Linked DNA regions of Homo sapiens: all the other regions are linked to region 2. The links are contacts of gene promoters, found by promoter capture Hi-C in blood cells and fetal thymus (Javierre and others, 2016). All regions are on one chromosome and are shown on one strand. The core of a region is centred on a gene start or on the middle of the fragment in contact, and the rest is flanking DNA. Distances in the headings are between cores, read along the strand shown.

Region 1 (4,003 bases), core at 1,186-3,685, 330 kb before region 2:
CCCGCTTTCAGGCAACTAAAGGCCCACAGGTGGTTGGTCACACTGACTTTGGATCCAGACTGCCTGGGTTCTAATCCTCCATCACTTGTCACCTCTGTGACCTTGGGAAGTCACTTAACTTCTCTACGCCTCAGTTACTTGAGGCTAACAATTGTGCTTACTGCCTAGAGCTGCCTTGGGGGTCCAATGGGATCATGGGTGTACAGTGCCGTCAAGCACATTGTAAGTGCTCAAAAAACACGAGCTAGTATTATTTCCTACTACATGCTGGTTACTGCCCTGGAACTAGAGGAGCATAAAAAAGCCTGGGCTTGGAGAAATTTAGGGGTCTTCAACAACTCTGCACTGTTCTGGGTTCGGCTGCACCATCAATTTTCAGGCACATTGCAGATTAAGTAGGCTTTGGTGCACTGACCTAAGAGCCTCATCACCATTTATATTATATAAAATGTACTCTGTTTTCCAATCAACTGAGTTTCCAAAGAAGCTTTGGACAAGTTACTGACAGAGCTAAGTAGACTGGAGACAGAATGGAAGAGGTGCTCATTTCCTATACCAGGGAGAGGTTAGAAAGAGTCCCTGCTTACACTGAGAAGGGGGTTCTCAGCCCATTGTCAATACCATAATAGTGGGTGTCACATATGTTTAAGGAACATGAGGGAAGGGATATCAGTTCCTGGAATAGCACCCACTGGGCAGGAACATCAAACTGTGCTTGAGTTGTTTGCTCAGCTGTATTTCAGAGGCTGCACTCTACCTTGGTTATAGATAGGATAAGTCTCTGCTCCTATCCATTTTAAACACTGGCCATTAGCCAAGTTAAATGGTATAATAGTGCATTGGGGAGTCCTCTGTAGACATTGAGAGCAAGTGTTTTGGAGTTAGGGAGCCCTGGGTCAAAGCCCAGGCTCTACCACTCTACCAGGCTATGTGATTTAAGAGCCTTCACTTCCCCTTTTGTAAAACGCAGATAAGAGTCATACCTACCTCTCAGGTTGTTAAAATGAGATAATGAATGTAAATCACTTTAAGCACAGCGCCTTGTATGCAGCAAGTACTTAAGTTACTGCAGCTATTATTCTTTCACTTTTTGCCTCAAGTTGCAAGGTCTCTGTTGATAGGACTTTTGGGAGAGAGGAACTGGGGAACGGACTGGGGAAGACAGGCAAAGGAATCCCTGCTCAGCCACCCTGCCCATTACTGTAGTTCCTGTGATCAGTGATGTGAAGTTACCGCAAATATAGTGAATGACCGCAAATAGAAGGTGATCTTTCAACTGCAGCCAGGTGGTTTTGTTTTTGTTTTTGTTTTTTTTTTTTGTTTTTCCGAGACGGAGTCTCACTCTGTCGCCTAGGCTGGAGTGCAGTGGCGCGGTCTTGGCTCACTGCCAGCTCCGCCTCCCGGGTTCATGCCATTCTCCTGCCTCAGCCTCCCCCGTAGCTGGGACTACAGGTGCCCGCCACCACGCCCGGCTAATTTTTTGTATTTTTAGTAGGGACAGGGTTTCACCGTGTTAGCCAGGATTGTTTCGATCTCCTGACCTCGTGATCCGCCCACCTCGGCCCCCCAAAGTGCTGAGATTACAGGCGTGCGCCACCGCGCCTGGCCCAGGTGGTTTTTAATACAGACACATGGCTGATAAGAGCTTAACAAGTTTCTGGATCTATTACCAAACTCAGGTCATTGTTTTTGCATTTTGCATTGGAATGTATGGATATATGTTCTCCAAACTAGGGAAATATAGATATGACCAGTGGTCTCTCCAATTCTGAAGCAGTGAACAGACAGCTGTGCTGTGTGTTCAGCAAACTCTGTAGTATAGCATTGTCACAGTAGTAAAGAAGTCACTATTCCAGCAAAATAATCCAAACCCACAAAGTTAATCCAACCCATTTAATAATATGCATCCTAGTTGTTGTGCTGTATGGCAGTGAAACAGAAATGATAAACTATTTACAAATATGACTATATTTTCCTTAGTTCCTCCATTGAGCAGTCATATTTTCAGCCATTCTCTTTGCTAGTTGTTCAGTGTGTTCATGGTCAGTATCACTGTTGACACATTTCCCCCATCCAAGCCACGCCTTCTGCTACCTACTGCCCTTCTTCCTTTTCCCTCCAGGGGCATTCTTTTCCTCCCCCAGGACCCATAGATCCTTTAGTCTCAGCAGCCCACCTAGCTCAGCTATCCGGGTGTTGGGGACCTCAAGTTTGCAGAAAATGGTGTTAAAATTAGCTAGAGTGGGCTCATGCTGGGAGTCAAAGGAAAAGTGGGAATGGGCCATGAAGGAAGGTCTAGAGCACTGGCTTCCTGTGCCTGGCAGTCTTGGGGTAAAGGAATGTTGCATTAGCATCGAGAGAAAGAAGAAAAGGGAGATGTTACTCAGGAAATCTATTTTCTCTAGAGATTCAGGAGTCTTGAAATGAGCTTAGCAGATTTACACTTAATGTCTCTATCTAAACTTTGGTTTTCTCATCTGCAGAGGAAGGACAATCTCTACCTCGCAGCATTGTTGCAGGAATGAAATTAGAGAATGTGTAAAGCACCCCACACAGTGACTGGCATGTGGTAAATGCCAATGATTGGCATCTATTTTTAAAATAATGTGCTCTTGTCCTGCTGAATAGGGCATATAAACCCCTCAGTGGAAACTGAGACACTGGCTAGAAAGAAACAATAAAATTATATTGCTGTCTTACCTTGATAAAAGACAGATACATAGAACGTATTCCCTTACAGCTGAATTTCAAAATAAACTTCCAATCCATGGACTCTTTTCCCTGTTCCTGGAAAAATTATATCCTGAGCATGTTCACGTGCTTACCAAATTACTCATTAATGAGTGGTCTATTTATTGGATAGAGTCAGTAAAATGATATTACATTTTAGTTTCATTTGATAGCTTGGAGGTATTTTGGGGGGGCTGTCATTATCATCTTTCATTGTTTCTGCAGGTGAGTCAGCTTTGAGGTGAGAGACAGGTGGTTTCTCTGCTATATGTAAACAAGTGGCTCTCAAACATGTGCATCAGAATCATCTGGAGAGCTTATTGAACCACAAGATGGCAGAGTCCCACCCCTGACAGATTCCAGGACCTGCACTTTGAGAAGCCCTGACTTAAACCAACACTGATTTCTCTGCACTTTCAGCTGTGGCAGTGATGGCACTGGCAGCTCCCTGCTTGGCTTGATGACCTTTGTAGGTTTCTTTAGTTGGTTAAGCAGCAGTTTATAGCTGCTTTATGTTAAGAGCAATACTTTTTCTGCCCCAAGAAAAGTACTAACCTGGGAAGAGTGCAGGAAATAATGGACCATTGACCATATGTAGGGGGCACATTCCAAAAATAGGTGTCTGTGTTCCACACTGATTAAGAGCTTGGGCTTTGGAGTTGGGAAGGCAAGCAATGAGACTTCTTTGCCATTTTTCTAGTTGTGTGGCTTTCTAAATTCTGTTTTCTCGTCTGTAGAATGGGGGAAAGTATACTTTCTTGCCAGGTTTAAAGAAGGTAAAGCACATAAAGTGCTCAATAAGTGTTAGCAACTTTTTCAAGGGGATGTAAAAGCCCAATGATGCCTAAGACTGTGAGTGCCACTGTTCATATATACTCATTAGAATTCACTAGAATGTCTGAGCACAGAGTTGGTCCTTTTGAGGTCTAAGTCAGTCCAGGTAGAGAGGGATTTCTAAAGAATTTCTCACAAGGTGTTATTCAGCCTTTTGTAGAAAGCTCAGACTGAAGAGCTTTATACTCTAAAATATAAAGAAAACAACCCCATCAACGAGCTGCCAGTAGAAATGTGTATGCTGTTCAAGTTAATTCATAATTGTGGGTTTAACATTAGTTATTATTAAAACATGAACAACTTTGGCTTGTTTAGAACATGTTAGGAAGCAAGAGCTAGATGGACCTTAGAGATCATCTGGTTTAATCCTTTTATTTTACAGATAAAAAAATCTGTGGGGCTGAGAAATTAAGTGAACAATTTGCTTGAAGGTACGCAA
Region 2 (4,131 bases), core at 797-3,296:
GCTGCAATGGACTCTTGTTCACAGTTGACTTCAAACAGTGATTTACCATTTATATTATTTATCATTTATTTATAGTGTGCACACTAGTATGTACCAGACATCATCATGGGTGCTTAATCATGATCTGCAACTTATGAGAGCCTTTCAAGGTGAAGTTCCTCTATAGGTGGAAAAAAAAAGGTAGCCATTCCCCTACTCATCCACATCCCCACATCCTTCCTCCCTTCCTTCTAATCTCCTTATTCCCCTAAAACAATATTCTGGACTTGAGCTAATGTGAAATTCTGATAATCTACACCATGGCATAAGATGGCAGTCATATTTTTATATGCATGGTGGTTTATATTTCTGTCTGGACATGCATGTTTATTGCTCCTGACAGGATGGTAAATGGGTATAGTCATAATTGGAACTGTTCCCTTTGCAGCTCATCCTCAGTAGGATAAAACTAGTTCTTGATCCTCAACCAAACTTTTCAGAAAGTACTCCATAAGTTACAAAATAAAGAGATCTTCTGAGAAACTACTTAGGCTATGGCATTTGACTCATTTTTTACTGCACAATTTGCATTCATTTATTCTCATATATTTTGTTGATAACATTCTGCCCATTAATATTATTTGCATTGTTAATACTGATGATTTGTTTTTACTTAACTTCTCACTTTTATCGTTTGAGCACAGTATATTTTGGTGTTTTTTTTCCCCTTGAGATCATTGAATGAAATCCTGGATTCTTACCTTTTCATATGATTCTTGTTTTATTTTGCTGTTATTATTAGCTTTCCATGTGGCAGGTATTAAAATCTTTATATTTCTGAAAAATACTCTTCTCTTGGTAGCATTAAATAGGTAAAATGAAGCTTCAGTTATCATTTCCTACAGCCAGACAAAAGAAAAACTTACTTTACCACTTGTAAATCCTGTATGTTTTGGTTTTCTGGTATGCTTAAACAGTAATAAAAGACAATGAAATATTTTGAAGAGACCCATTTCTTTTAGAGAAAGCCCTAGACTTTGGGAAAACATAGGAGCAAATTTTTAAAAAAACTTTAAATGATTATATGGAAGATTTTAGGACACTAATTATATGTCTGTGCTTGCCTTCATAGTTTTCCCAATTTTGAGAAAGGCTTTTAAGCTTTTGTGGAACAAATCCTTTTCATGTCACACCTGTGGGCACATTCAAGACCACACCTTATGATGCTACTGATTTCACTAAAGCAATACTAAATGGAGGCTCTTACATCATAGAGCTATGATCCTCCCTTGCCATATTAAAGTAAAAATAGTCAATTATGTTACAGCACATTCAAGTGAAAAGAAATAATTTTGCTTTTTGGCCCACCGTGCAGACTCTCACCCTTTCTGCCTGAGAATTCTCACCCTCAGGATGGAATCTAGCAATATGATTTTAACAAGCATGCTCATTATCATGCTTATTCATCAGTTAAATATTCAATCTTTGTTGCCACAATGGGTTGTTATTTTTCTAAGTTGCTACCCCAAAAACAGTCATGTAGGAAAACAAAAGAGCTGAAATTAGTAGCAACCAACAATAACAAAATAGAGGGCTAGATCAACACTCTGTGAGCTGAGACTACACAGAATTAGATGAACAAACTGGCTTAGTTAGCCATAATCATAACGTTGTGGCGCTATCTTTTAAAAATGCTGTTCTCTGTATTACTCAAATACAAACCAGGCAGGGTAGTTAGCTTCTAAATAAGGCTACAGGTCTGATCAAATGGGATGCTAGTATCAATTTCATAATTTCCACTCACCTTAATGTTTGAGATGAGGTTCTGATTCTCAGGTACCTGAGGATTAATTGCAATGAGCAATCCATTATACCCATTGTCTTGAAGCTGTACTCCAGCTCCCAGGAATGGGAGTTCTGAACTTAAGGCAACCAGGAGAGTCACAAACTTCAGGTTGCAAATAGGACCTGCAATGCTCCTTTGGGTCATGTTGTAGAGAAGCCTCCAGTTCACTCACACTGAGCCTGCTGCATACATTGTGTCAGGTTTTCAATATGGATGCAGATGGTTTCTTCCTGAACTTGCAAGGTTTTAGAACACAAGATGAAGGAGGTGTCTTCTTTGAAAAGTCTGGGGTGGATCCATCTGGGACCTGCCTCTACAAGTCCTTTTCCTCCAGGCAATGCTACACTTGCCTGTTCTGTGGCTGAGCTGCCTCCTGAATCATGGTTGGGCAAGAAACATTCTGCCCTTCATTCATTTTATAACTTTTCAGAAAGAAGAGGGAAATAAGACCAAAGGAGCTTAAAAGCAGGAAATATGGGCTGGAAATCAGTATATCTGGACTGTTCAATCCACTTGCAGTAGAAACACAGAAGTCTATAGTGATTTTCCTCTCCTCATTTTTCATAACCTCCTCCATCAGTTGGCACAAGTACTTTCTACTGCCCTCAAGTCATTTTTCATTTGTTGCAAGATTTCCTTGCCTGTTTATTTTGAAGATTTAGAAATCCATTCTGCAGCCCAGTCCCTACAGCCCTTGGGTCAGATAGTCTGGGCAAGCTCTCAGCTGATGGCTGGAGGTCAGATATCAGATATCCCCCAGAGAGGGCCAACTGCCAGGAACTTGGGTGCCTGTGCAGCCCTTTCCCTCTGGCCTTGCTACCTTTTCTCTCTGCCTCAGGAAGAAGAATAGATTTCTCCTTCAGCTCTCTCCTAAGGGCAAGGCCCTGCTTCAGTCAACCCTCCATTTCTCCAGGACCAAAAACAGGATCTAATATATAGTAACCATCGCAAATATTTTATGACTGATTCATAATACCTGATATTTACCTCATGCTTTAAAGTTTACAAATGAACTCATTTAAATATCAATACTCTGATGCAGGTATAATTTGTACTTTTCAAATGAAAATAATGAGTCTTGGAAATTCTGATTATGAAAATTAGCCAATGAGAGAAGAAACTAACATTTTTTGAGTGATGGATTTTATTATGCCTATTTTATGGGTGACAGAACTAATGTTCAAAAAAATCTAAGTAACTTGTTCAAGGTTGGGAGTATTATCATCGTACTAGAATGAACCAACTGACTCCAAATTCCACTGTTTTTCAATATATCATGTTCTCTCTTAGTTACTAAATTATCTTAGTAACCTCGTTTCTCCCTCTTCTTTGTGTTTAAGAATGCCGCACAGTGACATCTATTGTAAAACTAAAGAAAAAGTTTTATTCACAGCGTCAGAGGTCCACAGCAAGCAAAACCTGTGACTCTTCCCTGCTGTGGCCCCGTCTCGGAACATTTCTGGGGAGGGGAGTGTAGCATTTAGGAAACGGTCTGTCCCTGCTCTCAACAGGGATTTCACCAACATTGTCTGTTTTCAACATCTTCATGGGCAGTGTGATGTCACTCTTCTTCCCAGCAAGGTTGGAGTCTTCTGAACTTGGGCTTTGATATTGCACTGCAATGTTGACAGATGTTGAGGGAATTTTTTTCCCCTTGCTGTCTTGCTTGAATCATTTTCTCATGCTTCTTCTCACCTGCTTTTCCTTCAAATTCCAGCTGTGTCCTGGAAGCCTGGCCTGAGCTCCATAACTAAGTCAAATTCCCTTCTTTCATGCTTCCATAGCATCAGATAACTCACCTTTGCAGTATGATCATGGTAACAATGTCAAATTTATATTGTATAATTGATTGTCAGCTTCCTGCTGTATGAAGGAAGGGATGGAGTCTGTTTTCATTCAGTACTTCCCCAGCACCTATCTCAGTAAACTCTCTGTTGAATGACTGAATGAATGGAGTCAGGAGAAGTAAATAAAACAAGATAGTGAAGGAGCCCCGGGTTATAGTGTAAAAATTCTTTCCCCCACCCTTGTTTTCTAGAAGGCATCTCCTCTGTTCTAGAGCAGTTTCCCTCTTGCTCCCTCTTGACAGGCAGTGCTTGAGTATGGTGCTCTCCTTGAAGAATGGGATGGCGCTGGTCATTACGTGGCTGCCCAAGGGTCTTACCCTAAAGTTCAAAGGTCAGCTTAGCTGCCTTTTCTCCCAAACTGAATTCCCAGCCCTAGTTTTTTTCTGCTTGTTCACTGTGTCTTCAGAGTAGAAGGCCAGAGGTGTGGCAGCTCCAAAGGCTCTGTCTGTAAATGTGACT
Region 3 (4,025 bases), core at 307-2,806, 290 kb before region 2:
CTATCTGGCCAAAAGTTTAAAATGGAATCTTATGCTGACTTCGTTCAGTTAATAAAATATTTGGAATACTAATAAATGTTTAATTTCAATAGGTTATAATAAAATCTTAAATATGCAGGCAACTCTGCTACAATGTAATATGTATTTCTGCATAACGTATTTTTGAAAAACCCATTTCCAGAAGATCATACATTGAAAACAACATAGGAATTACAAGAAAAGGAGTGTTAGGTTTGGCTGCTCAAAACCTATGTAACTTAATAACCAGAGCACAGGCTGGGCATGGTGGCTCACACGTGTAATCCCAGCGCTTTGGGAGGCTGAGGCGGGCAGATTACCTGAGGTCGGGAGTTCGAGACCAGCCTGGCCAACATGGAGAAACCCTGTCTCTACTAAAAATACAAAAATTAGCCGGGTATGGTGGTGGACACCTGTAATCCCAGCTACTCTCAGCAGGCAGAGGCAGGAAAATCGCTTGAACCCAGGAGGTGGAGGTTGCAGTGAACCAAGATCACACCACTGCACTCCAGCCTGGGTGACACAGCAAGACTCTGTCTCAAACAAAACAAAACAAAACAAAACAAAAAAACCACAGCACAAACAAAAAACAAAAACAATTATTACGACTTCCTGGCACAAAACAGGGGCAGGAGGAAATTGTATTTTATTTCCCTGTTTACCAGTTGTGAATGAGCTTATTTCCCATTCAGAAAAATATGTTTAGAACAAGGGGAAAAATGTCTATTACTTTTAATAAAAGTGCCAGAGTGTAGAATTTAAATGGCCTTAAATGAATAAAAAATATTACATGGTGTCCAAAGACATTAGGACTCACTCAAAGTGCAAAAAGCTTATTTTATTTCCAACTTTTATTTTAGTTCAAGGAGTACACATGCAGATTTGCTACCTGGGTATACTGAATGATGCTGAAGTTTGGGGTACACATGAACCTGTTACCCAGGTACTGAGCACAGAACTCAACAGTTAAGTTTTTCAACCAAAAGGTGTATTTAAAAAGTCACTACTATTTAACTAAAATGATAGAGAACTGCTAATATTTATATAGTGCTTGAAGTTTAAGTTAGTATCTAAAAGTAAGCATATGTCATATCACAACTTGGTCCCAAACAAGTTGGGGAAAAAAGAAGGAAAGCATACATTGTACCTTTGTTCTTCAGTTTTGATATGCAAAGCTCACAGTGAAAAGACTGGATGTTCATACACCCGGTTCTAGTCCAATTTCCACTTCTAATTAGCTATGCTACATTTGACAAGATGCTAACTCATGAGTTTCATTCACTAAACAATTATGCACCTTAACTGCAAGATTATTGAGTTGACTTATCTGAAAATCTCATAGTTGTCTGAAGATGAAATGAAATAATTTATGTGAAAATGTAAAACTTAAACATAGGCGGGGCGCAGTGGCTTATGGCTGTCATCCCAGTACTTTGGGAGGCCGAGGCAGGTGGATCACGAGGTCAGGAGTTCGAGACTAGGCTGGACAACATGGTGAAACCCTATCTCTACTAAAGACACACACACAAAAAAAAATTAGCTGGGCGTGGTGGCACATGCCTGTAATCCCAGCTACTTGGGAGGCTGAGGCAGAAGAATTGCTTCAACCTGGGAGGTGGAGGTTGCAGTGAGCCAAGATCACACCATTGCACTCCAGCATGGGCGACAGGGCGAGACTCTGTCTCAAAAAACAAACAAACAAACAAACAAACAAACAAAAAAACACACCAAAAACTTAAACATAAAAAATGGTACCTACTTAAGCAACTATATAACTTTGTCTTAATTATCTAGGGACAATTCTTCCCTAGATGAAAAAGGAAAACATATTTATATACACAGCTGCTCATAAATTAAAATTCAAAGTCACTGCCTAAAATTGAGATTTTTTACAAGGATTCTATAAAAGACTGAAAAATATCATTTTAAAATTGGTTAGGTACATAGCTGTTTATCACTTCCTCTTCACAAAAGCACACACAAAAAAACCCACTGACCTTGAAGCTACAATAAAAAAATCCTATGTTTTCAGATGGCCATTAAAACTTTTTTTTTTAACATTTAAAAACCCACTAATAGTACTTAAGGTACACAAGAGGTAGAGTTTCTTACTTGGATTTGGCTGCAATAACACTTCAGTTTGTTTCATTATTTTTTCTGTCCATATTTTGGTACATTCAGCTTTGCTAAGGAGGTTCTCTAAGTGAGCATCCAATTCTGTCTTCTCAGCCTGGCCAAGCTTTTCTTCTGTGAACTGTTATTGATTGTAAAACAAAAATTAAATATACTGCAAATAAATTTTAGGGAACCATATCAATAAGTAAAAAGCAAATTCAAAGCTAAACAATCCTAAACATACAAATAACCATGCTCCAGCTTTGTAAGCCATTGCTTATGAATACTTTTTTTTGCTCCTATGGTAATTTATCCATACTTCTTTTGTGGATGACCCTACCTTACAGTCATCACATACCCTTAGTTCTGCTAAAATGTATGGTGTGAATTCTACAGAAAACCTAAGTATACTTCTTGGTATATAAAGCATGCAACTATTTCAACTACCTATCCTAGGTAGACTAGGATAACGGTAAAGAGTAAGAGCTTTGAGTCAGTTGAATCTGAATTCAAATCTTAACTTTGTTCCTTGCTGTGTGAGCTGAGCAATGTATTGAATATTTTTTCTTTAGTACCCTCTATTATAAAAGAGAGACAATACATATTTTATAGTGTTTGGGGGATTAAGTATGATTGTGTATGCAAATCACTTTGTTTGGTGCCTTGTAATTATTAAGTTTTGAAAGAGCTGTTAATGTTTATTGTGGTTTATGTCTTATTAGCACTTTAATCACACCTAGTTAGATAAATAGTTTCCCAGAACATACCATAAAACCTGTCATTTAAGCTGCTGAGGATATGTTCCAGCAATTTATTTATAGACTAACTTTTGGAACATATCCTATTCATACTATGAAGACATCTTTTAAAGGTCATAAAATGTGGTTAAACGTACTCAATGAATCAATTTTTATTATTGAATATACTGGTATTTGAGAAAAGGTAGCACTGCCTATATAATAATAAAGCAGTAAAAAGATTCTGTGTAGATCTACAGCCTTCTGGATACTTTTAATTAAACATTAGAGGTGATGACTCAAGCTGTTTATCATGCATCATTTTCCTCTAGAATATGTGGCTTCCTCCCATCTTAACACAGGTATATCACTAGCATTAATTCTGTGCTCAGTAATGACTCACTTCTGGCTGACAAAACAGTGTTCACCTTGCCTTTCTCTCCTTTCGTTTCTCAAAAATCTCGTTTGCTACTCTATTTTCTGAGTTTTATTGTTTCTTTCAGCATCCTTCTTCTTGGTTTAATACTTTCAGGTTATTATCAACACCTTAAGCTGAAGGATCCTCTAGAATTCTATTCTTAGACTTCTGGTTACAATCTCCACTGAGGCTCCTGTTTAGGGGCTAGAAATAACAGCTTAAATAGCTTTTGTAAAGCCTTGGGTCTTTTTGAGAATGGTCTATAGCCAGCCCCTGACCTAGTGGGTAGAACCAAAAATAGCAGTTACAAAGCTATTGCCTAAGCCCATAAACTTGCAGTGTAGCTGGAGGACTGGGCACTGAGCAAAAGCAAACCCTGATCCCAAGGCCAGCTGGATAAACTATGCAACCTCATTCTTAACAGAGAACCCCGTAGTCTTTACAGATCCCTGAAGATTCTAAGCAACAGACCTCCTACTAGACTTTTACATGTTCAAAGTCTACCACCAATGGCTAGATAAAATAACTCCCAGATAAAGTGACCAATAGGAAGGGAAGAAAGGGAATACCTTTCACTCAGGTGAACATCACCTATAAAGAGTGATCTAAAAAAAATTCACTTAGCCCCTTAAAAATTGAAACTGCATGCATAAATTTCCCTTTAATAAGCAAGTTTATCCATTTGTTTGTTCATTTTGTTTATTCCTTCAACAAATACTTATTAAGCACCTACATAT
Region 4 (4,410 bases), core at 748-3,247, 480 kb before region 2:
CAAAACAGAATTACCCTAAAATTTAGTGACGTAAAACAATTGATTATTTTGCTTTCAAATCTTGTGAGTTAGCAATTCTGACAGGGCACAGCAGGGATGGCTTGTCTGTTCTATGATGTCTCAGACCTCAGTTGAAACACTAGGGCCTGAAATCTGAAGGTGGTTTACTCACATGTCTAGTAGCTGATACTGGTTGTCAGCTGGAGTTTTCAGTTGCTCTCTACATGGGCCCTTCCATGTTGTCTCTCTTGTATAGACTTCTTTACAGCAGGTTGGCTAAGTTCCAAAGTTGATGTTCCTAGAAAGAAAGAATACTAGCCAGGCAGAGGCTGTTTGCTCTTTTACGACCTACCCTCAGAATCACATAACTTCCTTTAAACTCTGTTGTTCAGAACAGTCATGGCCCGTGCCCAGATTCAAGGGGAGGGAACATAGACCCCACTTCTCAGTGGAGGACTAACATTGTAAGAACATGTGAAATGATATGTACACATTGATGCAGCCTTTGATACATATTGATTGTCTTGTCTTTGGAAAACACAATCTGCTCATTGTTACATTTGATTTTCAAATTATCCTGTGAAATAAATGAGGCAGATCACTTTACTGATGGAGAAATTACCCAAAGTACTAGTATGGTAGCAAGTGTCTTATAGTTAAACTAGAGAGATCAAACACACAAATTAACCAATAAAGTCACAGTTCCCTCCCACTAGGCTGGGATGTCTCATCTGTTTTGAAAAATTATACATATGACATTATTACAGAGATAAGATTAAAGATGTATAAAATATCACGTCAGCATTTTGGGTGAATATGCCAACAAGTACTTAAATTTTCTTTTCATTGGGAAATGCCACTGGATATTAATCTACCTGGTGAGTTTAGAAAAGGATTGACACACTGCAGCTGGTGGGCCAAATTCAGTCAACCCAGTTTTTGTAGAACAAATTAACATAACAAAATGAAGCAAAGTTTCATTGGAACACAGACACATTCATTCATTCATGTGTTATCTGTGACTAGTTTTTGCACTGCCATGGCTGAGTTAGATAGTTGTACAGAAACCATATGGCCACAAAAGCCTAACAAAATTATCTGGCCCTTCACATAAAGTTTGCATACCCTTAGTCTAGAAGATCAGTCAGTTGCAGTCAATCTGAAATTTCCCCTACCTGACGCTATGGCTTTGTGCGATTTATTTATCCAACAGATATATGAAAACTGTCACAAGTGAGGGAAAGACAGAGAAACAACTTAATGCTTGCCTTCAGAAGAGTTCATAGTATTGTTGAGGAGTCAGATTTACATAGTACAGTGTCACGAACGGTACTGTTTTACAACTGTGCACAAGTTTCTCGGAGAAGAAAAGTACTCTGGCTAATGATTGAGATCTGATTTTTTTGGTCAGTGAAAGCTTCCTAAAAGACTAATACTGATTAGATTCTTGAAAATAAGTAAGATGTTACAAGGTGAAGAAGTGGAAACAGAACCTTAAATATAGGGGAGACTGTGAGCAAAAGTGTGTTTGAGTAGGGCTTTTATACTTCAAGATACTATAGGAATTCCTTATAGCAGGAGGAATTGAGGAAGTAATGAGAAGTAGCCTTGGCAGTGAGCATTTAAGCCACTGAGGCAGGAAAAGACTTGAGAGCTTTTTAAGAGAATTATAAAAATATATTAATTGGTTGTGAGAATGGTGAAGAATATGGAGTGTAGGTCAGTAGGATGACTGATCTGGGCAACTAGCTTGTCAGAGAAATGATGCCATTTTACTAAGATACTGAATACCTTAGGAAGAATAGATTTAAGAAAAATATAAGTTTCAGTGTTGCAGATTTTGAACTTGCAATGCATATTCAACACCTAAATGTGATATTGAGTGGACTGTTGGCTTTGGAAGCCTGACATTCAAGAAAAATACTTGAGAGTTTTCAATAAATGCATATCTGAAGCCATGGATAAATATGCAGTAATAAATAGAAGGCATGTAAAGCTAAGAGAGAGCCAAAAACAGAACTGTGGGAAACAATAGCATTTAAGAGATGCATAGAAGAGAAAAGTAAAGGAGGACAGGCCTTTGGACGGGGTAGTTGAAGCAGAACAGTTTTGAATGCCTTTGCATTTGGTAATTTTGGGCAAATTTTGTGGAGTAGTAGGAGCAGAAACCAGGCTATATTAATGAGTTTGGGGTGTTAGGAAAAAATAAAGATAATAGAAACCAAGTTATAGTAACAATTCAGAAATGACAGAACGTGGGAAGAGCAGTTAGGACCATAGGGCTTAAATATAGCTAAAGGTTGAAGTATTGATGAAATGAAGTATCTGTTAAGATAGAATCCAAAGAGGAAGTAGAGGGATTGGCCTTAGACAAATGGAGGTATACCACATTCACTGATAGGTAAAAAAGAATGGATGAGGGAAGGGAATATTGTTGAAAGCCTGCTTTTGTCAGCCATTCTGATTGATTAAATCATCTCTGATTTAATGTAACGATTTATGTAAGGTAACCATAGCAATCTGTTTTATGTAGGAAGTATTGCCCCTTAATTTATGAGTGAGGAAATTAAAGCTTAGGGAGGATAGTTTGCCCAGGGTCACGAATCTTGTAACTGGTGGCACTATTACCTAAAACCAAAAGTTTGAATTCTGGCGTGCTCTTGCCTGCACCATCCCCTTTCCCGTCCTTCTTCTGCTGGATGTGACTGTAGATAAACCCTACAGCTAATCTTACTCCATAGACCCATATGAACAGATGTTGAGTTCTTAAAATGAAACAAAAATTATTTTTTCTTATAAGAAAATTCCTTTTTAAAACAATAAATCTTTAAGAAAATATTTATGTGATAAACATCATGAACAATGATATGCCTTTTCTTCTTAATCCATATTTTAGCTAAGCTGAAAGATGATGGATGTTTAAGAAAAAAAGCTTGTAGGGGAGGTGGGAGAAACCAGACTATTACATAAGGTTACAGAGTTTAAGAAAGAATTTATTGCTGGGCGAGGTGGCTCATGCCTGTAATCCCAACACTTTGGGAAGCCAAGGTGGGCGGATCACGAGGTCAGGAGATCAAGACCATCGTGGCCCCCGTCTCTATTAAAAATACAAAAATTAGCTGGGCGTGGTGGCATGCGCCTGTAATCCCAGCTACTAGGGAGGCTGAGGCAGGAGAATCACTTGAACCCAGGTGGCAGAGGTTGCAGTGAGCCGAGGTTGCACCACTGCCCTCCAGCCTGGCGACAGCAAGACTCCGTCTCAAAAAAAAATAAAATTAAATTAAAATTTAAAAGAATTTATCTCCAAATGAAACATTTCAGTAACTTGTCTTCAATGTGTTAGTTTTTGACAACCCCGTGTTCTCTTTTTGGAAAGCTTTGTAGTATAAATATGGAATTGTGTTTTATTTCCCATTTTTTATTTTCAGGTGTCTGCTTTTGGGGCAGAGTTTTCATCGGAGGCATGCAGAGAGTTAGGCTTTTCTAGCAACTTGCTTTGCAGCTCTTGTGATCTTCTCGGACAGTTCAACCTGCTTCAGCTGGATCCTGATTGCAGAGGATGCTGTCAGGAGGAAGCACAATTTGAAACCAAAAAGGTACTGTTTTCTAGTATATTCCTTCCATTGGATGGTTTAGTTGAGATAAGGTAAAAATGTAAGTTGCTTAATCAATTTAAGTGTAAAAAAGCCTCTAAGCTTTTACATTTTTTAGTAAAACTCAACTGATTTCTTGTCTGGCCTATTAGTTCAATCAAAGCAAATATGAAGGAGAAGTATGGTTGCATACCAGGATCCCATTCCACCATGATTGTCAAGCAAAGGGGAAGTAGAATCCCTATAACATGCTTTGATCCTGTAGTTCTCCAGTCTTCCTAACTTCTGGCCAAATGAAGCCAAAAAATAATAGGTGCTTTTGTTCATTTATAGTAAGAACCCAGTGTTGGATGAAACTTGAAATGAAAGTAAAGCACATAATACCTGGCACTTAATTGTCTACAATAAATTGTAACATGAAATCTGGTTAAAAAGAATATGGACTGTTAGTTTACACACCTATTGCTAGTAATTTGAGACACCTAACCTCACCTTTAACATCTGAAAACAGAGCCAAGGATAGGTAGTTCAGTCTCTCCAGGTAAACCTACTATGTTTTAAAACCTGCTGTTCAAACAAATTAATAGTGAACTTGCTCATCTTTTAAATATTTTCATCAAAACTCTTAGATTTATTTAAATTATAAAGTAGACTGGAAAGATCATTTGAGTTGTCCAGTTAAAACTAAATTGGTAAGATACCTGTGTTTGTAGTGAGAAAAAAATGTTAGCATATTTCTGTTGTTTCCTTCCAGTACTGTCTTTGACTTGTACATGCTGAATTCTGTTTGAAGTATTATGGTTTGTAAAGCTTTCAG
Region 5 (4,488 bases), core at 1,501-4,000, 310 kb before region 2:
CCCAGGCTGTAGTGCAGTGGTTCAATCTTGGCTCACTGCAACCTCTGCTTCCTGGGCTTAAGCAAGCAATTCTCTCGCCTCAGCTTCCTGAGTAGCTGGGACTACAGACATGCACCTCCACACCCAGTTAATTTTTGTATTTTTTTGTAGAGACAGCGTTTCACCATATTGACCAGGCTAATCTCAAACTCCTGAGCTCAAGTGATCTGCCCACCTTGATCTCCCAAAGTGCTGGGATTACAGGCATGAGCCACTGCGCCTGGCCAGGAAACTCTTTAATGAGCTGTCTATGCTCCTGATGCTAATTCCTCCATATGTGCACAAAATCTCATCCTTTTTTGCCTCTCTAGGGTATCACTCTAGCAATTCTTCCCTTTCCCTCCCACATTATCATATTTTCTCCACCTAGTGTATCATTCCCATCAGCTTACAAACATGCCCTTATTTCTCCTATCTTAAAAAACAAGCAAAAAATTGCTAGACCCCACTTTCTCCTCCGACTACTGCCTCATTCCTCTGTTCCCCTTTACACCAAAACCCCTTGAAAGATTTACGTATTCTTACGGTCACAATTCCTCTCCTCCGAGTCTCTTATATTACAAACATTACTTTGCGCCTACTGTTTCACCAAAACTACTCGTCAAGGTTAGCAATGACTTTAATGTTCCTAAATCCAATGGTCAATTCGTAGTCCTCTCACTTGACCTAGGCAGTGACCATTCTCTCCCACTTTCACACATGTTCACTTGACTTCCAGGCCATACTCTTAGTTTCCATTTTACCTCACTGCCTCACTCGTTATCATCTTCCTTGCCTCGTTCCTCAACTCTCTATGCTAGAGTACTTCAGGGATCAGTCCTTGATCCTCTCCTTTTCTCTATACTTACTCCTTTGAGGGTTTATCTAGTCTCACAGATTTAAATATCTTTGATATGCTGACAACTCTCTAATTATCTAATTCACCCTGCCCCCAATCCAAGTCCAGACCTGCATATCCTAAAATTGGATACCTCCACTTAAATGTTTAAGAGACATCTCAAACTTAACATATTTAAAACTGGGCTTCTAATATAACTGACATACTTCCCAGACCTCCATCCCTGAAATCTTTGCCTCCTCTGGCATTCCCCATTTTAACTATCTACAACTCCCCATTCTTTCAGTTACTTAGGTCAAAAACTTGCAGATGGACGTGGTGGCTCACGCCTATAATCCCAGCACTTTGAGAGGCTGAGGCGGGCAGATAGCCTGAGGCCAGGAGTTCAAGACCAGCCTGGCTAACATGGTGAAACCCCTTTTCTACTAAAAATGCAAAAAATTAGCTGGGCATGGTGGCGCACACCTGTAATCCTAGCTACTTGGGAGGCTGAGGCAGGAGAATCTCTTGAACCCGGGAGGCAGAGGTTGCAGTGAGCCGAAGTTGCGCCATTGTACTCCACCTTGGACTGGAAGAGTGAAACTCTGTCTCTAAAACAAAACAAAACAAAACCTTGCAATAATTCTTGACCTCTTTGTGTCCAATATACATACAGTCTGTCAAGCAAATCCTTCTGGCTTTAAGTCTAAAATACACCCACAGTCACGCCTGTAATCCCAGCACTTTGGGAGGCCGAGGCGGGCAGATCACAAGGTCAGGAGATCGAGACCATCCTGGCTAACACGGTGAAACCCTGTCTCTACTAAAAATACAAAAAATTAGCTGGGTGTGGTGGTGGGTGCCTGTAGTCCCCGCTACTCGGGTGGCTGAGGCAGGAGAATGGCATAAACCCAGATGGAGGAGCTTGCAGTGAGCCGAGATTGCGCCACTGCACTCCAGCCTGGGCAACAGAGCAAGACTCTGTCTCAAAAAAACAAAACAAAACAAAACAAAACAAACAAACAAAAAACAAACAACACCCACAGGCCCACAGGACCTGACCACTTCCATCCTACCTACCACAATTACCCTGATCCAAGCCACTGCCATCTTCTGACTGAATTACTGACTACATTATTGCAATAAGTTTGAAACAGATCAGTCAGCTTCCACCCAACACCTATCCTCAACGTGGCAGCCAGAATGATTCTGTTAAAGCCTAAAATTATGTCACTCTTCAGCTCAAAATTTCCAAAGGCGCCTCATCTCTGAGTAAAGACCAAAGTCGAAGCCCTATATGTTTTGGCTCCCCGTTTCCTCTACTCGTCTCTAGCCAAGCCCTCCTTGCTGTTCCTTGACCATACCAGCTATGTCATGCCCTCAGGGTTTTTGTACTTGCTGCACCCTCTACCTGGAGCATCTTCTCTCAGATGCCTGCATGTGTGCTTTCTCACGTCTTTCTCTACTCCCATCAAAGTAGTTTCCTGCTATATTTTCCGGTACACCATTTTCACCTTCTAATATACTATATAATTTATATACATATTGCTTTTCTGCTCCCTTCTGCCCCCATATAGAATGTAGATTCCAGGAAGGCAGGAATTTTGATTATTTTATTTATATACTATATCCCCCACATCTGGAACAGTACATTTTAAAAATGAAAAGCAAATGTTTCTCTGATGGATAAAGGGTGAAATAGTTTTAAATATAGCTTTTCCTCTCTAAAATTAAGACCACCTGTCCTAGTATCCTTTCCTCAGTGAACTCGGTTCTTCAGTAGGGATTAAATACATACATTTCTGAAGATAAGAAAAAGCTCTATTTATATGAATATGTATATACACATGGCTTTTTTAGTTCTCTAACCATATTTTACTTCCAAATCTACTAGTATGATTTTAGCCTTTGATTAGCCACTGAAGTGTACCTATGTCAATTTTGCAGAGTTAAAGATTTAAAAAATGAACTGAAAGGCCATTTTTACCTTCTAAGAACTTTTATTGATACGTTAAAAAATCATAGCAATTACTCATTCTATAAAAATGTCAATTAAGCCACTGGAGCTTGAAATGCAAAAGCCTTCCAATTATTAAAAAAATTGCTAATCTTGTGACTAGTACTTCTGCTTTCTCATCTTTAAAATATGGATAATAATAGTACCTACCTCATTTGGTGGTGAGGATTATAAAGTTAATAATACACATGAGGTGTCTGGAAGAGCACCTATGCACAACTTAAGCTCAACCAAAGTGATGGCTGTTATTCAGTTACTTCTACTACCTGTTGGTACTGTTATTGCAACTATTAACAATACAATCTGGTTCTCTTCTTCATAAATAGTTTTTGAATGTGTTAGTGTGAAGCTGGATGATTTGTCAAGTTCTATATTTGAATATTTCTATGTATTATCTTAAAAAGCATAACCTGCAACAAATTAAAGAGATAAAACTTCCTCCAATGTCATTGGTCATTAGCAATAATATAATTGAGGGTGGAGAGACAAGCTAGACTTTCTTTTCTAGAATAGTAGCACTGGTTTTACTTTGTATTGCTGGAGCTTATCTCAAAGAGCAGTAATAACGCAACAACTGGATTTTGTTTAAATGGCCAAGTCCTAAGCATAGTGTGGCTTTAAGTAGAATGCGAGTATAAGCAACCCCTATGCCGCACTTCCAGAGTTTCAGGATAAAGTGGAAAAAAGTACTAAGGCTTCTTGGGCTTAAAATAGTTATAATGATGTGAAGATAAAGTGCTGTTCTGCCTTGAGATATTAACACCACTAATAAAACCTCAAATATATAGTTATGTAAATGCTCCTGTATATTCTATTAAAATAACTAATGATTAGGCTACCATTCATTTTTGAGGTTCAAAATTGGTTTCATGGACGTGCTCAATTTTATTCTAGGCCAAGTTTTGAAGTGTTAATGTGCAGAAACAAACACCAAAGTGACTTTATTTACCTTATTCCTTGAAACGATTTTTTGATATTCATCCTTCAAATGCTACATATCGCTCCCCTGCTTTAATGGTTCCTCAATATATAAATTCCAAACTCCTTACAACAACTTACTTTAAAAGCCATTCATGGTATGACCCTGCTTAACTCCTCTAGATTCATCTACCATTCCATTCTTGAACACTATGCTCCAGCCTGAATGGACTACTATCAGTTCCCCGAACTTTCCCTACTCTCTTTCTTCTGGCTTTTTTATAAACATATTCTTCCTTGCTTAGAATATTCATCCCTGTCCCTTTCTTCATCTAGATTATTCCTACCAAGATAACTTCACCTGGGAAACTCTGCTAGATGTACCTCAGTCACAGTTAGATGCCTTCACAATACCAGGCACCTTCTGCTTTTCTGCCTACCACATGGCCTGTCTACCAACGGCTTGCTTTGTATTTCTACCTAGGCTAAGTGTTGTGAGAGCAGAGACCATGTTTGCCCTAAACATTATTTTATTTTCAGTGTCACCTTATAATGTGAGCTCCATAAAGGCAAGCATCTTTGCCTGTTTTGTTTGCTGATATTACCCCACAATATGTAACAGTGCTTGGCACATGGCAGATAGTCAATAAATACGTGATGAATGAGTGATTGAGCTTTGTGTTTTACATACTGTCAT
Region 6 (4,025 bases), core at 1,419-3,918, 270 kb before region 2:
GAAATCACCATTATGGAACTTATTCGTGTAACCAAACCCCACCTGTTACCCAAAAACCTATTGAAACAAAAAAATTATAGATAAAAAACAAATATAACAGCATTTAAGATGTATGTAGAATCATTGAAATTGTACAATTTGTATTTCACAGTACACGCATGCATATGTATTTTGTTCTTACTAAAACAGTGGAAATGCGGCATGAAACTAAATCAATTTTTAAAAATTTTATTTCTTGATATGTGCATATTCCACCAATACTCTACTTTTGGCCTGCTGATGAAGAGTAAGGAAGGACTGAAAGGAGGAGAAACTATGGGTTGCCTTTTCCTTCTGTCATCTGTTCAGCGTAAGTGGTTGGCAGCTTTAAAAAACCATTTACTTTGTACTCTCATTGGTCTTCTGGAATTCACTACTCATAGATGTATTGAAAACACTATATATGAATGGGGCCTCAAGGAACAGCAGCAGACATGTGTCTGTAAGTGCTGATGTATAAAGATTTCCAAGATACCATATTAATAAAAAAAGTGTATGGAACAGTGTATGGGTAATTGAGTGTAAATAAAAAGGAATATGTGTTATATATATATGTAAGTACTTTGTATATGCATAACTTGTAAAATAAAAATAATTTTAAGAAACTACATATAGCAGTTACCTTTGGGGAGAAGGTATGGGGTAAGGAGCGGGAAGGGTAGGAAGCTTTCACATTTTATTTTGTATCTTTCTGTACTTCTTGGATTTACAACATGTGTATGTATATGTAGATATACACACATGTATAACATTTCTTTCATGTTTTTATTTTTAGATTTCATAGTAAAACCTTTGTTGATTTAATAAACATAATGGATACTCATTAAAATATTCAAACAGCATAGAAAGGGACAAAGAAGAAAGCAGCCAGCAATCCAAGTACCACTATCCAGAAATAGCCAGTGATATCTCTTTATGTGTGGAAATACAATGAAAATTGAGTGAGAGACATACACAGAGGAAGAAGAAAAAGAGTAAGTTATAAAAGGTATTAAATTAAATTAATTTAAATTTAGCAGAAATAAAAAACAAGTAAAAAATGAATAAACCTCATGTTATTTCTTTCCCACAGAGGTATTAGATCCTACAAGACCCCTCTTGGAGTCATTTTATGTGAGGTTTTCTTCTTCCTTCTTCTTTTTTCTAAATCACCTGTTTTAATCTTAGACATCATCTATTAACTTACCATGTTAAAGATGAGGTAATTAGAACTTATTTTTTTCTTTCGTCTTGCATTTGTCTCTCTACCAACTTACATTGCTTTTATTATTTTTACTTTGAGTTAAGCAGTGAGTCACCAGTAATGTCCAGTGTTATTGGAGTATGTAGGAAAACAAGCATTCTCAAACACAATATGAGGAAGTGCACATTGATAAAGATATTTTGAAGGGTAATTTGGCATATTAAGTAAAATTTAAATTTGACCCAGCAATTCTACTTATAGCAATCTATCCAAAGCATATTTGTACAAAGATAAGTATACAAGCTTTTGTGCAACACTGTTTTTAATACCAAAGAGTTGGAAATGTTAATCAGTAAGAAAATGGTTTTATGAAGTATGGTGCATTCGCAATGTGAAATACTATAGAAAAGTTAAAAGAATTATGGAGACAAATATGTACTGAAATGGAAAAAATTCTAAATTATATTGTTAAGAGAAAAAAGAAAGTCATACAATATACCTACAGTGTGATTCCATTTTATTATGAAATAATATAAATATATATCCACACATTCACACTGATACAGAATTATACATACAGAGAAAGATTGGGGAGAGGAAAAGGACTGGGAAGGTAAAGAGGAAAGTTCATATTTAATCCCATATACTGAAAATCTGCCTTTGTGTTTTACAACAGGAATGTATACGTTGTATAAAAGGCAGAGAAAAGGAGAAAAAACAGTCTCTTCTCCAATATGTGTAAGGAATCTAATTTTAGGTAGTATTTCTGGTTTAATGATTGATATAATGGGCAAATCTGCTTTCTATTTCGGATGAGAAACAAAGCAAAACAAAACACCCTAGCTTTTGACATAATCTGCATGCCTTGCCATAGATGTTAGCCAACAAACCAAAACTTCTCCTCACCTCAAAATGACATAATTTCTTTCCTATTACACTTAAGATCCTGGAATCATGTAGTTCACTGCATTCTTCAATCTTGAATAAAAGTGCTAGACTACTGGCAATGCTATTCTCTTTCAAAGAGCTTCTTTCCCATTATGCCCATGTTTTTACTTTGAGGACTGAATGCTCATTCCACTTTAAAATAAAGCTTAACTATAATTTTATTTTATACTTTAGTTACTGATATTACCTTGTGACTTGAGATGAAGACTAAAAGGAAAAGTAAAATAACAGTTTGGCTCACATTGTTGGAATTTAAGTTAATATGACTCATACTAGCAATTAGCTTCTTGTCCTGAAAGGTAAATATCAGTGTATTTACTGACGCTTTGAGGTATGGGAGTAAGGAGACAACGCCACCAAATTATGTGGTATAAGTTTAAGCTCTTAAGTTACCAAGGAAAAACTTAAAAGGATCCACTTGCCAGTTACTTACCAATATGATCATCTAACAAACACCTATTATGAGCAACCCCTATGCTAAGTTCCATGAAGGACAGCAATATAAGATATAATCTTTTTTTTGTTAAACGATGTGCATACGTGAGATAATATGGAAAGTTGAATCTAAGAAAGCCTGGCTTGGGAGGTATTCAAGTGGTCGTGGTAGAGTTAAAGATACCCAGAAGTCTTCTAAGAAGCACAAAACATGATTCCTGTACTCAGAGACATGCAGTCCTATTCACATGCAAAGAGGACCTACACTGGCTATTGCCAAGTATCAAGCGAGGTGAGTGCTATCATAAGTCACAGAATGGATACATTATTTGAGTAGTCAGATAAATCTCACAGCATGAGGCATAAGATGTCTAATAATGTCTAGAAAGCAATTGGAAATATGTGATTAAAGCTTGGGAATGAACACTGGGTTAAAGATAGACACTTTGGAGTCATTTGCATGGCTGTGATAAATAAGATTTGAAATAGAAGATAAACAGAATGAAAAGTAAAGGAAGATTAAAATCTGAAGAAAACAGCAAGACACTGTAAAAATAAAGACAGTTATAGAACTGACATGTTCACAAATATTAAGCAAAACAAGAGTTAACTAAGTGGACTGCATTCAAAAAGTTTAAGTAATCTTTTTAACTTTTGCTTGGAATATTGCTGATCCTTGTTTTGTTTTTCAGAGTCAAGGAAACTTATTTTAAACTATTAATGGCCATTAATAATTGAGTAAGGTATACTACTGTAAACAAAATTTGGAGCATGTTCATTTATCTCCACCTGGTTCCTCTAAAATTTGGAGACTACCTGTAAGTACTCTTAACTTATGGCAGTATAGTTGTTTGCATCAGTGCAATAAGAATGCATTTTTCTTTGTCAACAGGACACAATTGGATAAACTGGTTATTTTACCAAGGCTTTGGCTGAAATGGTGTGTTTCCCTTTAAGGAATCAAGCTTGACATGCAGAGCCAATAAAAGCCCCTTGGAGAACTGGCCTCATACCTTGTCTATACAGTCCCCGCACAGGGTTCCTAACCTGTAGTCAATAAAGAATGTCACTTTCTAACAGGTCTGGAAGCTCGGAGTTTCTCTTGGGACCTCAAGAAGTGAGGATCACCCAACTCACAGGTATTTGAGGATACAGACCCATTGCTGGGCTCGGCTTTAAAGGTCTTATCTAAGATTCCTTGTGGAACAGAGTTTCATCAAAGCCAATCCAAGAGACCTATGTAGAAATAACTATTCTTACTGCACTTCATGCAAATAATCAAGCCAAGTATAAGACTAAAGTTCATTCATGATTAGTTTTGACCAAAAATGAGAACTGGAGAGAAAAATTTTGCTCCAAAGCTTATCATACATTTGTCATTAAATCCTCATCTCAATTGTTTTTAAGATTTTTGCTTACA

What was found. The method cuts DNA at HindIII sites, captures the fragments that hold promoters and counts their contacts. A CHiCAGO score of 5 or more calls a contact.
Region 1: a contact is called between a fragment that was not itself captured here and the fragment with the promoter of CLCA2 in region 2, in 1 of 17 cell types (naive CD4 T cells). The highest score is 6.5, in naive CD4 T cells.
Region 3: a contact is called between a fragment that was not itself captured here and the fragment with the promoter of CLCA2 in region 2, in 3 of 17 cell types (fetal thymus, naive CD4 T cells and total CD4 T cells). The highest score is 5.6, in fetal thymus.
Region 4: a fragment that was not itself captured here is called in contact with the fragment with the promoter of CLCA2 in region 2 in 1 of 17 cell types (monocytes); the score reaches 5.2 in monocytes.
Region 5: a contact is called between a fragment that was not itself captured here and the fragment with the promoter of CLCA2 in region 2, in 9 of 17 cell types (total CD4 T cells, naive CD4 T cells, naive CD8 T cells and 6 more). The highest score is 9.0, in total CD4 T cells.
Region 6: a contact is called between a fragment that was not itself captured here and the fragment with the promoter of CLCA2 in region 2, in 8 of 17 cell types (total B cells, naive B cells, erythroblasts and 5 more). The highest score is 10.7, in total B cells.

Annotation. Positions count from the first base shown.
Region 1 is chr1:86,752,950-86,756,952 of GRCh38, reverse strand. No RefSeq gene overlaps it. Among named protein-coding and RNA genes, the nearest start is that of SH3GLB1, 50 kb to the right of the region's middle. RefSeq lists enhancers at 913-1,413, 3,085-3,144. The HindIII fragment of the contact is 3,892 bases long and covers 490-4,003 here.
Region 2 is chr1:86,422,086-86,426,216 of GRCh38, reverse strand. It overlaps CLCA2 (chloride channel accessory 2), which reads right to left and starts at 2,046. Exons shown (of 14, transcript NM_006536.7): 1 at 1,784-2,046; 2 at 741-878. The coding sequence starts at 1,969. The HindIII fragment of the contact is 7,161 bases long and covers 1,143-4,131 here.
Region 3 is chr1:86,713,971-86,717,995 of GRCh38, reverse strand. SH3GLB1 (SH3 domain containing GRB2 like, endophilin B1) reads right to left here. Exons shown (of 9, transcript NM_016009.5): 2 at 2,131-2,272. Among named protein-coding and RNA genes, the nearest start is that of SH3GLB1, 11 kb to the right of the region's middle. The HindIII fragment of the contact is 1,407 bases long and covers 853-2,259 here.
Region 4 is chr1:86,902,467-86,906,876 of GRCh38, reverse strand. SELENOF (selenoprotein F) reads left to right here. Exons shown (of 5, transcript NM_004261.5): 2 at 3,429-3,596. Among named protein-coding and RNA genes, the nearest start is that of SELENOF, 9.5 kb to the left of the region's middle. The HindIII fragment of the contact is 1,155 bases long and covers 1,420-2,574 here.
Region 5 is chr1:86,735,640-86,740,127 of GRCh38, reverse strand. The region is part of intron 7 of SH3GLB1 (SH3 domain containing GRB2 like, endophilin B1); the gene reads right to left. Among named protein-coding and RNA genes, the nearest start is that of SH3GLB1, 33 kb to the right of the region's middle. The HindIII fragment of the contact is 6,030 bases long and covers 1-4,488 here.
Region 6 is chr1:86,694,023-86,698,047 of GRCh38, reverse strand. It overlaps CLCA4-AS1 (CLCA4 antisense RNA 1), which reads left to right. Exons shown (of 5, transcript NR_135837.1): 2 at 286-349; 3 at 815-1,027. Among named protein-coding and RNA genes, the nearest start is that of CLCA4-AS1, 8.5 kb to the left of the region's middle. The HindIII fragment of the contact is 702 bases long and covers 2,318-3,019 here.